Linked DNA regions of Homo sapiens: region 1 is linked to region 2. Evidence: promoter capture Hi-C in human tissues and cell types (Jung and others, 2019). All regions are on one chromosome and are shown on one strand. The core of a region is centred on a gene start or on the middle of the fragment in contact, and the rest is flanking DNA. Distances in the headings are between cores, read along the strand shown.

Region 1 (2,700 bases), core at 144-2,643, 33 kb after region 2:
AAATTAGCCAGGCATGGTGGTGCGTGTCTGTAATCCCAGCTACTCTGGAGGCTGAGGCAGGAGAATCACTTAAACCTGGGAGGCAGAGGTTGTGGTGAGCCGAGATTGTGCCATTGCACTTGTACTCCAGCCTGGGCAACAAGATTGAAACTCCATCTCAAAAAAAAAAAAAAACCAACAGGCAACATTCTGGGCTGAAACAAAGGTAATTCATCTGGTAACAATAGCAATAACATAAATAGCAGTAATAATTATACATTATTGAGTTCCTATTCTCTGCCAAAAATGGTTGATAAGCACCTTTGATATGGCTTATTTTACCTAGTCCTCATTATAACCTTAGAAGGTATATTGTATCTGGTCAAAATTGAAAGAAGAAATTGAAACTCACAGAGGGTAAATAATTAAAGTTCATAGCTAGTAAGTAGTACAGACAAACCCAAAAGCAGAGTTTCATGCTCATAGTCACCATAATGTATTCAGAAACTTTTAGGACTCATCACAATATTAAAATCATGGAACTTGGAGCCACAAAAAGTCAGATTTAAGTCCAAACCCTGACCCTGGGTAATTTAACTTTTCTGGGTTTATGTAACATATCTATAAAGTAGCAATAATAATATTACCACCTCATGCTGTTTTGGTAAAAAGTAAATAAGATAATGTATATTAAGGTATTTGGATAGTGCCTATAGATGTATATATGCTACTTAATAGACAGTAATGTAATTATTAACTATGACCTAAGATGTGGCACAGTGCAGGTAGCAGAAGTTCTATCATTAATCATTTACAGATACTTATTAAATTGCTTCAAACCCATAAGGATAGAGGCAACATGGAGGGGGAAGTCTAAGAAATTGATTGAGTCAACATTTATATAAATACTTATCTACTGAGAGCTTCTTCACCTCAGGGTTTGGGTCACTTTAAATGCATCCTCCCTGACCTCCTCTGCCTGGCTACCTTTGGAACTCCAACCCATTCTGCAAGACCCAGTTAAAATGCTGCCCATTCCTGAAGCTTTCTTATTTTCTAAAGTAGGAAGAGATTTCTCCCACCTTAGAACTCCTATAAACATCTGCAGACTAGTTCTAGGCAGCCTTTAACAAAATCCTCATGGGATCTTTGAAAATACAGATTCCCAGGTCCAGCCTCCAGAGAATCTGATTCAGATAAGGCCAATGAATCTGAATTTAAAAACATGTATTTGTGTGATTTTGATGGGTGGACACACTTGAGAATCACGTCAGGACCATTTATGTGGCTCTCAATACATATACACTACTTTATATTGCAGTTGTTTATTTATGTTATATTGCAGTTATTTATTTATGTTTCATCTCTTTTCCTGAGAAATTACCTTCCTGATAATCCAATGCAGAGATAAATTAAGAAAATCTGTAGGAAAGAATAGATCATCAAGTCCCTTGCAACATTCTTCTGAGGTTGTAATAATCTCCTCTAGGATGCTTTGCAGGATTTCCCTGGACTAGGTTGGCTTTTCCTGCTACTTTCTCCCATTACAGGTCTCCCTATGGCAGCACTGCTTATATCACTTGGAACTTGAATCTATTTTGGTAAAAAAAAAGTTAAAAATTAAATTATCAGAAGGATATTGGGGATGCCTGCAGAGTAATCAAAATAGGATCTATATTGTTATAGAGCCAGGCACATTAATGCCATCAGCTTTAGCCCTTTATGTTGTGATTTTACTTTATTCCAAATGTCAGCTTTATCCTGTTGGATGTGCTGATCTTTTTTCTCTACATTCAGCCAGTTCCATTCTCATGTTCTGGAAGCCTGTGACAGAGGGGGAATATGCATTTCAAGATCAGAAGATCCAGAGTGAAAATGATTGGAATGGCCTGAGTCACAGTTCCAATCCTAGACCAAGGCATCTGGCTAGGGATGTGAGAGATGATGAGTGACAGATACAGTGACAGCAAGTGGTTGATGGGATCTGAGTTGTGAGAGAGGGTCTGTGAAAAATGAAAGACCTGCATAAGAAGAGGAGAAGCAGAAATATGAACATTGTTGTGAGTCAGGTCTTTACCCAACTCTGTGCTGCTTATTCTACTTTTTTGTGCAAGATTGATTATGTGTGTTTAATAGAATGCAGTAAAGAACAGTGTTGGAGGGCAGCTGTGGAGTCCACTTGAGTGGGACTCTACCACTCTGCCACTTACCTACTTTGTGGCCTTGAGAAAGGTACTTAATTTCCCTGGGTTGCAGTTTGTTCACCTAAAAACGTGGCAATAATAGTAATACTGTTTCAGAGTTGGCGCAAAATTAGGATAATATATGTAACATATTTAGAATAATGATGGGTATTCCTTATATAAATGTTAGATGTTAGCTACTATGAATTTTTCTGTTGTTCCACTAGACTGTAGGACCCCTGAAGGCAGGCAACCTTGGGCTTCTTTCTCCCAGCACCTAGCACAATGGCTGTTACTTAGTAAGCAGTCAGTAATGGTGTGTTGTTGTCAGTGAACACAGACTGAGTTCAGTGAGCAATGTCTTGGAAAGCCTCTACTGCACCTAGGACTTTCAGCTATACTGAGACAGAAAAATGAAATCCTCTCTGGACTGGAAAGCAGAAGCCAGACGTGTGGGCAACCAAACTGTAACTGTTTCCATGTCGAATTGACTTTGCCTTTAGCGAATCATAGCACTGAGGAGAGTCACGTTTAAGCA
Region 2 (2,700 bases), core at 14-2,513:
TTCTTAATATCCAGGTCGAAAGGAGATAACATTACTTTTAATATAATAAGGGTGGTACACCCTGCCTGTGATATGATTCCTAAAATCTAGAAGAAGAGAGAATGATATTACTTCCAATAATACACTGGGTGTGCAACCCCCTTTGATATTGTTCCTAATATCTAAAGAAAGAGATGATGATATTACTCCCAATACTGTAGAAGGTATACACCGTCCTGTGATATTGTTCCTAATAACTAGTGGGTGAGGGCATGATATTATTTCAAATATCGCAGTGGCTTTACACCCCTTCCGTGATATTTCTCCTAATTTCCAGGGGGTGGAGTACGAAGTTACTCCCAATATAGTAGTGGGTGTACACCCACGCTGTCACATTTCTACGAATATTCAGGGAAACACAGCACGATAGAACTCCAAGTCTCGCAAAGAGTGTACACCATTTTGTGATATTGTTCCTAATAACCGGAGGTGGATAGGATGCTGTTAGTTTCAATATCGCAGGCTGTGTACACACACACTGTGAAATTGTTTCTAATGTCCAAGAGGGGAGAGAATGCTATTAATTCCCATATAGCAAGAGGGTGAGGCACACCCCGCCATATGGGGAGTAATAGGACCCCCCCTCCCTCCCTGGCTACTACGAGCCACATCGCTGGGGTGTGAGGCACCCTCCTGCCATATGGGGATTAATAGCGTCCCCCTTTCCCCCCCGACTATTACGATCCACATCGCAGGGGAGTGAGGCTTCCCCCGCGATATGAGGAGTAATAGCACCGCCCTCTCCCCCTCAACCCCCCGGCTTTTAGGATCCACATCGCAGGGGGGTGAGGCACCCCCGGCGATATGGAGAGTAATAGCACCCCCCTTCTCCCCCCCCCCCCCCCCCGGCTATTACGATCCACATCGCAGGGGGGGTGAGGCAGTTCCCGTGATATGGGGCGTAATAGTACCCGCTGTGCGTCCTGGTGGCTCCGGACCCGGCCCAAGCGCGGCGGGACCTCCATCCGTAGCCCTCTCCCCCAACGTCGCCCTCCCGGGGTCCTTGTCTAGTCTCAGCAGGCGGCAAACGGACCCCAGGCGTCTGGCGCTCACCCAGGAGACTGCCCAGCGGTTTCTGGAGAGAGCGCTAAGCGGAGACGCCCGCTGGCAAGCAGATCCCGCCTCCTTCCCTGGCCAAGGAGCCGCCCCTCCGGGGTAGCTGTGCGCTGGGCGGCGCTCGGACCCCTTGGCAGCCGCAGGTGCCTCCCCAGCCCAGCCCAGCTCAGTCCAGCGCAGCCCAGCCCAGCCCAGCCCGGCGCTCGCAGCCTCCGCCGCTTCCGGGCAGATAGGTGCCTTTTCTTGCTCCTTGCTCTTGGAGTTCTTCTCTTAGTCCCTGTTCCCTGGATGAAAGCATCGCTCCGAGCCTCATGGGAGGAATGAAGGAAGAATCGAGACTAGGTGAGTGGTGGTCTAGATTTAACGAATAATAACAATAAACCTGCATACTAAGGGTACTGTTGGGAAGCTAGGAAGTGCAAGGAGAAGAGAAGACAAAGGCTGCTGATCAAGATAACTCACAAAACTAAATGCAGGCTAGGGCCAATTCCAGCTATTTTGCACTCCATCCAGGTTCCCCTGCCTGGCACTGACTCATGTGCAGACCCAGACAGACTTCAATAAATATTTGCTGGGTTGAGACAAGTGAGTGGAGGTGTTTCTGCTTGTTCTCCAGCATCTAAACAAGCAAAACCTAGCTGCCTTTGATGATTGCTTCATCTCCACAAGGACTTTTTCCCCCAGGACTTAAAAAATAAAATGTGGTGTATTCACACAACGGACTGCTATGCAGCACTTAAAAAGCTAAAATCAGAGCTGTAGGGATCAGCATGCCTGTACCTAGATTTCAGAAGTATGATGGCAGATAGACACAGCAAGATGCAAAATATATCCACTCTCTCATGCCATTTAGGTGACTTATTTTAAGACACTTGTCATGTTTGTAAAATCATAGAAGGGGGACTGTAAAATGTTTATCACATCCGTGATTGTGGCTGTCTTTGGAAAGTGTGAAAGGGAAATCAATTGGACTTTAGGATTAAGGTGGAAATAATATTTCCCTAAAATGCTTTAAAAATAAAAATGATGATATAAAGATGACCAAATATAAACAATTGTTAACTGAGAGTGTTATTAACTTGGGCATTTTTCATGTTTTTGCCCCCTATTTTTAAAATATTTCTTAAACTAAGAAGTTCTGTTTTTCAAATGCAAACAAAATAAGTTGTGTCTATGCACATTCTGTGACAATGAAACCTAAAATGTTTAATCAAAAGTTGCAACTTTCTTGCATCACCTCCTATGTTTTCCAATCCTAGAAGACCACACCTCTTTATCTAGGGAGGCTTGGTGGTTAGAGAAGCTTACCTGTTGACAACCCCCAAATTACAGGCCAAAGATGAAAGGTTGGTATTAGGGAACTATTTCCCAGTTAATAATCTGATAATCGGCCAGGTCAGGGTAGACTCTGAAAACTCCCTGTGTCCCTGCAAGACAAATTTCTCCTCCTTTTACATTTCATATGCTTTGGATTTTCATTTTCATGGATGGTAGCTGTCCTCTTCACATCTCAAAATGATGCTTAGGTAACACTGCAGACCTAGTGCCTGGAGATCAGGAAGGGCTGGGGGGTTGGTAAAAGAGAGTCCTACAGCTCTACTGGGC

Evidence for each region. Contacts are between HindIII fragments. The study calls those that stand out against the background at their distance.
Region 1: a fragment that was not itself captured here is called in contact with the fragment with the promoter of STK32A in region 2 in 3 of the 25 tissues and cell types used here (H1 embryonic stem cells, aorta and pancreas).

What each region holds. Positions count from the first base shown.
Region 1 is chr5:147,266,871-147,269,570 of GRCh38, forward strand. All of the region lies in intron 2 of STK32A (serine/threonine kinase 32A), which reads left to right. Among named protein-coding and RNA genes, the nearest start is that of STK32A, 33 kb to the left of the region's middle. The HindIII fragment of the contact is 8,058 bases long and covers 1-2,700 here.
Region 2 is chr5:147,233,763-147,236,462 of GRCh38, forward strand. STK32A (serine/threonine kinase 32A) reads left to right here and starts at 1,264. Exons shown (of 13, transcript NM_001112724.2): 1 at 1,264-1,437. It overlaps STK32A-AS1 (STK32A antisense RNA 1), which reads right to left and starts at 1,097. Exons shown (of 4, transcript NR_147190.1): 1 at 951-1,097. The HindIII fragment of the contact is 18,302 bases long and covers 1-2,700 here.